Regions from separate parts of the Homo sapiens genome. Here region 2 is linked to region 1. The links are contacts of gene promoters, found by promoter capture Hi-C in human tissues and cell types (Jung and others, 2019). All regions are on one chromosome and are shown on one strand. Each heading gives the region's core, a stretch centred on a gene start or on the middle of the fragment in contact. The rest is flanking DNA. Distances are from core to core; before and after follow the strand shown.

Region 1 (3,425 bases), core at 395-2,894:
AGATCCATGGGAAGGGCAAAGGTGGGTGAGGCATGGGCTCTGTCCTCCAGGCGCTTACACTCACAAAGAATACAGAGAAGATAAAAAAGGTCAAACGTGATGAGGGCGGGAAGTGGCCGGTGCAGGAAGAGAAAGGAGAGAGATTGTTCTGGACCTGGGGTCAGGGATGGCTGTGGGTGGCAGGGGCAGAGAAGGGGCAGGCTCTCCGGGGTGGAGGCCGGGAGCAGAGGTGCTGCGGGTCAGCCGCGTTGTTTGCAGGAGCCGGAGTGTGGAGGCCGCAAGGCTGCCGTGCAGGTGGGTCCCGGCTGGTGGGGGCTCCGGTCGAAGCGGGGTGGGGGGGTGGTGGGGGGTAGGGGTAGGGGGGTGAGGTGGGGGACCTGTGTTCCTGCGGCCCACTCTGAAAGGGGAGTGAGTGCAGCTGGGCCTCCGGGAGCCAGCGCTGGCCAATGTCCCGTGGAGGACGGGGAGGCGAGGAGGTCTTTAGGAAGCTCTGGGCCTAAGGGAGGGGCCGGGCTGGGAAGAGGGGGTACAAGGATGAAAAGGAGGCCAGGTCGTCGGGGCTTTGTGCAACAGACTGGGGAGGATGTGTGGAGACAGAGGAAGGTGATGATGAAGACAACGGGGGCGGTTCTGAGAAGCAGAACTTCCAGTGACTAAGAGTCACTGGAAGCAGCTGGCTTCATTTAGGGTTTGTGGCGTTTGGGGTGTCTAGGGGCTTCCAGGGAAGTTTGCTCAGTGGACGGTTGGAGATGCGAGGGCCTCCCCAGATGGTCAGGACTAGAGGCACAGACGGGGCTTCAGCCTCGCCGAGGTGGCACTGAGGCTGGGAGCTGATGGCCCCACAAGGAGAAGGACGGTGGGAACCCTGGGGCCTGCAGCCTGTTCCGGGAGGGCTGGAGCCAGGCTTTTCGGGCCCACCTGGCATTTGGAGATTAGGTGACCCAACCTTGTCTTCCCATCCCCTTTTCACAGATGGGGACACTGACCCTCCAGGCAAAGGCTCAGAGTCGCTCAAGGTCATCTGCTGGTCGTTGCATTCGAAACTTCCAGCCTAGCGCTCCGTCTCCGCCTCTTAAAATGTTCATTAACAAAAAACCAGCCCTCCAAGACCCGGGGCACTGCGAGTTTTCGCGCAGACGTCAAGCTGCGGCTCCAGGACGTGATTTTCGCAGGGAGCCGGGTGGACCAGGCTCTGGGGCCGGGCCCGCAGGCTCCGCTGGACGCGCAGAGCCCAGGACAGACAAGACCGCCCCGCCCCGCCCCGCCCCGCGGGCCCCGAGCCCCCAACCCGCCCCCGAGCGCGCCCCCGGGAGCGCGCGCTTCGCCGACGCGGCCGCGCGCCCCCCCGCGCGCTCCCGCTCCTGCGCGTCCTCGCGCCCCGCGCGCGCGCGCCCTGCCCCCGCGGCCCCGTGACGCGCGCGCGCAGAGACGCTCCCGCCGGGCCGGGGCCGAGAGCAGCAGGGCCGGGTCCGGGTCCGCAGCGCCTGCGGGGAGGGGCCGAGCGCGCGCGGGGCGGGCCGGGGACCGTGGGGCGCGGGGGCGCGCGAGGCGGCCGTGGCGGGGCCGCGCTGAGGAGGCGCCGAGGGGAGGGAGGTCCCTGCGCGCCCGCCGCCCGCCTCCCGCGCCCGCGCCGCCGCCTCCTCCTCGGTGCGGTTCCGCCGGGCGCGAGGAGCCGCCGAGACCTCCGCCTGCGAACAAAGAGGAGGCCGTGCGGGGCGCGGCGCCCGCGGAGCATGGCGGACCGCAGCCTGGAGGGCATGGCGCTGCCCCTGGAGGTGCGGGCGCGCCTGGCCGAGCTGGAGCTGGAGCTGTCGGAAGGTAACCGGGCCCCCGCCCCGGGCCGGGCCGCGCTGTCACCGGGGAGGGCCGCGCGCGGAGGGCTGGGGGCGCGGGGCCTGCGGCGGGGCGGGGGCCGGGCCCGGAGGGGGAGGTGCGACCCCAGCCCGGAGCGTGCGCGTCCCCCGGACCCCCAGACCCCGCGCCCTAGGGACGTTTGTGAGGCCGCGATCCCCCGCGCTCTGGGGACGTTTGTGGGGCCGCGATTCCCCGCGCCCTGGGGGTGTCTGTGGGGCCTGGGATCCCCTCGCGCTCTGGGGGTGTTTGTGGGGCCGCGATCCCCCGCGCCCTGGGATGTTTGTGGGGCCGCGATCCCCCCGCGCCCTGGGGGTGTCTGTGGGGCCTGGGCGCCGCGCGGGGACGCAGGATGCAGCGGGCCCGGCGGGATCGGCCTTCCCGTGCGCTCTGCGCTGGAGCCGCGGCGTCCTTGGTGCAGCAGCGCGGTGCGCGCCACCTCCTCGCTGGCGGGTTCGGCCTGGAACGCCCGGCCAGATTTCAATGCGAAACTTGTCGTTGGACCCCGGGTTCGATCTCTGGTGGCTCAGGCCGTGCAGCGGTCCTGGCGCGGCCCGGGGGATCCCACCCCCATTGTTCGCGGGCGCTGCGCGGGGAGGGCTGGGCGGAATCGTCAACCTCCCCCCGGGCCGGGCTCCGGCCTTGCCGTCCTGGTCCTCTCGTAGGAGGGTTTGTGGCAGATCAGCCACCGCGGTCTTATGGAGGGTTGTGTACGCCTCTTATTTGCTCTTCATGGCGGAGATCATGTGCTCAACTGTCATAAGTTTCAGATCGGGCTTTGCCAGGTCTTTTCCCCAAAACCACTGAAGTTCCCAAATCTGAAATGTTTGATGTGCATTTAGCCGTCTCTGGGCTCATCCTGGTCAGGCCATTCCTGTAACGTGGGGTGGGGTGGGGGTGGGCCGGCGCGTCTCACATTTATATTTGGAGCAGTTTAGCATGGTGAACTTTTTTTGGGTAACGGTTTTGTGAGGGCCGGCAGCCAGAAAGTAAACTCATTCGTGCCAATTTTCACCGGCAGGGAGGAGCTGGTGTTGACTTTATGTTTTCCTTTTTAACACTTTCAGGGCAAAGAAGGGAGTGAGCAGGGGCCATGGTGTGCAGCCAACTGCCTTTCCAGACTTCTGGGGACGGGAAATGGTACTGTTTTTCAGTTTCAGATGTGGGGTTCCGCGAGGTGTGTCAGTGTCCTGTAACGTGACACAGTTGGCGGGGGGCAGAGTCTTCCAGGCCTGTGGGCTTGGCTGCTGCCCTCCTGAGGAGCTGAGGATGAGGAGGGCATGGCTAGGAGGCGGGAGCTGCCGTGTGCAGGGTTCGGATGTAAACTGGTAAGTAGATTGTGCAGTGCAGACAGCTCGTTTGGTGGGTAAGGAGTGTATCATTTGCAAAAGGCCCACCCTGGTTATCTGATTGTGTCAGCCTTGGGTAGGTTTCCCGGCTTGCGTCTCGGCCCAGGTGCACCCCTGCCTGCAGCACCCTCCGTGTTCGCTGTCTCAGGACAGGGGCTTCTGTGCTGCCTGCATCACACTGATGTGAAGTGTCAGTGCCCCATCCAGGTCAGCAGAGCGTAGCGC
Region 2 (3,425 bases), core at 559-3,058, 560 kb after region 1:
TTGCATCCCTGCACTCCAGCCTGGACAACAGAGCAAGACGTTCTCCAGGAGAAACTGTCAGTATAAGAAATCCATTTCCATTGAAAGCCATGATTCTTCCAATACTTAAGTGGCAGCTTTTTACTACACAGCAACCGAGGAGCTGAGCTGACAGTGCTTGCCAGGCCTAGTTCCAGTGCCTGTGGGCCTTGAAACCCAGGCTCCGGGCATCTCTTCAGGGCTCCATAGCTGTGGCTTCTGAAATTCAGTTCCCCACTTCTGTCCATGAATGTACAGTATTTGTTAGAAGTAGGTCCTCCCATACTCAGGTTAATATGCTTCAAAACATTTAAGGAAAAGTAGGATCCTGTCTTTTCAAGGGCAACTCATCACACAAGATGAAAAACAGATGTTTGTGTATGTGTGTGCCTTCTTTCCTTCAAAATTGTGATTCTAACCTTTTCCCTGTCTCCCTGGTCCCTGTTTTCCTTTTTTTGAGATAGGGCTCACTCTGTCACCCAGGCTGGAGTGCAGTGGCACCATCTTGGCTCACTGTAACATCCACTCCTGGGCTCAAGCGATCCTCCCACCTCAGCCTCCCGAGCAGCTGGGACCACAGGTGCATGCCACCGTGCCCAGCTAATTTTGTATTTTTGGTAGAGATGGGGTTTCGCCATGTTGCTTACGCTGGTCTCGAACTCCTGAGCTCAAGTGATCTGCCCATCTTGGCTTCCCCAGTGCTGGAATTACAGGCGCGAGCCACCGTGCCCGGCCCCGACTCTCTTCTATAGCATGATGTAGAAGAATATGCACTAGTGCACCTGAGTCCAAATTCCAACTCACTGTGAGACATTCAAGTGATTTCACCTTTTTGAACCTTGGTTTCCCTGTTTTTCAGGAGTATGATTTTCTAACATCAGATTGCTTGGATTAGAGTCCTAACTCCACCATTCTCTAGCTATTGACCTTGGACAAGTTATTTACCAATTTATGTCTCATTTTCCTCATCTGTGAAATGGGAATAATATACGATTTCATAGTGGTCATTGAGAGGATTAAATGAGAAAATGCATGTAAAATTATAATACTGCCTGCTTGGAATAACTTCAGTATTAGTGGCTACAATTATTATTATCTGTAAAATGGTAATGATGAATATTAAACGGGCCAAATATTGTGAAATGCCTGACACAAAAGGAGCTCCCCTTCTACCACGTCCCGTAGTCGAGCACACAGCACAACAAAGCGAAGACACCTAAGGACACAAGAATGTACCTGATTAATTGCAGGTGCATCTCCAGTTCCTCATTGCTCCCCACAGACCCAGCAGCCCAACCCAGGCTGGATCCTGGGGATTTCCTCCTGGCTTTTGATCTTTAGCTCCAGATGAATTGCCATTACCTGGAACAGAAGAAACAATTTCAGCCTGTGTTGACTCTCTTAGGTTTTTTGTTTGTTTGTTTGTTGTTTGTTTTTCAGAACTGCAGTTCCAGCAGCCACTTCCCCAGACTCTGCTTCTGACTAGTTATGTAACTTTTGGCACGTAGCAACCTCTCCCAGCTTCAGTTCCCTTCTCTGTAAATGATGGAGGTTTACAATTCGCACAAGGTTCCCATTAGTACTAAAATTCTATGAATTCCAATGCTATACCGGCCTCTGTTCCTGGAAATCCTGTTGTTTCTGCTCTGTTCTTCAAAAGCTCTCTTATCAGATATACTTTCTGGTCCTATTTCTCTTTTCCCCTGGCTTCCTTTCTTCCTCACCGCACTTAATGATGCCTGGCCTCTCTGCAGGCACTATCACACCGCTGCTTCCCTGCAGAAAACTTCTTCCCCTGGGATGGAAGCCAGGACTCTTTAAGAGACTTATTCTTGGATTCACAATATACAGAGGCATGGGGATAATTGCTGTCATATCTTGAGAAGTTATTCTCTTCTTCATTTAAACATTTCAAGTACCAGAAAATGCACACTTACATGTTTATATACTTCCTCCAACCTCTTGTCAGGGATACCTTTCCAACATGTTTTCACTTTTTAGGAAGGACAAAATTTAGTCATAGGCTCCACTCTCAGCTTATGGAGAGTTTCATGCAGTGAACTTACATTAAAACAAAAAGAGGCACCTGCACTTGGCCATCATTACTAAGGTCTATACACACATGTCAGTGATCATATCTGAACACAGAGCTGTGAACATGCCTCTTCCATGTTACATTTTACAGAAATTCCCTTCTCATTGCCACCTATTTGTGGCAATGGCAAATGAGAATCTGTGCGGGAATTTTTTTACTTTCTTTTCTGAGACGGAGTCTGGCTCTGCTGCCAGGCTGGAGTGCAGTGGTGCAATCTCAGCTCGCTGCAACCTCCACCTCCCGGGTTCAAGCGATTCTGCTGCCTGGGCCTCCCGAGCAGCTGGGACTACAGGAGCGCGCCACCACACCCAGCTAATTTTTGTGTTTTTAGTAGAGACGGGGTTTCACGATGTTGACCAGGTTGGTCGCTATCTCTTGACCTCGTGATCTGCCCGCCTCGGCCTCCCAAAGTGCTGGGATTACAGGCGTGAGCCACTGCGCCCGGCCTTTTAGTTTCTTTAAAACCCAGTACTGTGGTATATAGCATTTAAGATTTTCATTCTCTTCCTTCAGCTTTCTCACAGTTGTGATTACTCATGTTCCCATGCAAATTAATGTTTAAGAAATCATCACAGTATTTACCACTGATGCCTTTGGAATTTTCTGTTGTTCTGAAGGATTCTCCCGTTTGTTAATTTTCATAAAAGCTTTCTTTGGGTTTGGTTAATTGGCATAAAATTAAAACTGATGTTATCTTTATGTATGTTTTAAGTTTTTAATACAAACAAAGCTCAGAGAAATTGTAAAAAGGCTGATGGGATAGGAACATTTAAATAAATAAACATTTATAAACACATAAATAAATAGTTCATAGGAAACTGTCTTCTAGAAGTAGTAAAGTATAAAACGTCCATTTGTATTCTTCTATTATTTGAAGAAAACTATGTCTTAATAAATTGTCCAGTGATAAATCCCTTAAAGACCTAGAGAAAAATATAGTAAACACATTAGATCTCGCAGGGGAAATGGTAGAAAGTAAATATCTAGGAGAACAATAAAATGAAATGTAAATAATTACAGTGCCAAATTATACTTTCTACAAAATAATTATATTTCAAAAATATTTCCTACATTATTTGGCCATTGTCTCTGCACTTACAGTTTGATTGGTTTCTTTTGCTTATGTGCAGTATTGAGATAAAGTCAAAGAAAAGTTGGAGGCCAGTCATGGTGGTTCGCATCTGTGGTCCCAGCTACTGTGGAGGCTGAGGCAGGAGGATTGCTCAAGCATAGGAGTTTGAGGCTGCAGTGAGCCATGATTGTGCCAATGCACTCCAGCCTGGGCAACAGAGCAAGACCCAGTCTCAAAAAA

Evidence for each region. The method cuts DNA at HindIII sites, captures the fragments that hold promoters and counts their contacts. A contact is called where the count stands out against the background at its distance.
Region 2: a contact is called between a fragment that was not itself captured here and the fragment with the promoter of DIP2C in region 1, in 1 of the 25 tissues and cell types used here (pancreas).

The regions. Positions count from the first base shown.
Region 1 is chr10:687,887-691,311 of GRCh38, reverse strand. It overlaps DIP2C (disco interacting protein 2 homolog C), which reads left to right and starts at 1,644. Exons shown (of 37, transcript NM_014974.3): 1 at 1,644-1,818. The coding sequence starts at 1,734. RefSeq lists an enhancer at 334-1,269. The HindIII fragment of the contact is 17,538 bases long and covers 1-3,425 here.
Region 2 is chr10:128,165-131,589 of GRCh38, reverse strand. It overlaps a transcript of ZMYND11 not described here. Among named protein-coding and RNA genes, the nearest start is that of ZMYND11, 5.6 kb to the left of the region's middle. The HindIII fragment of the contact is 6,236 bases long and covers 1-3,425 here.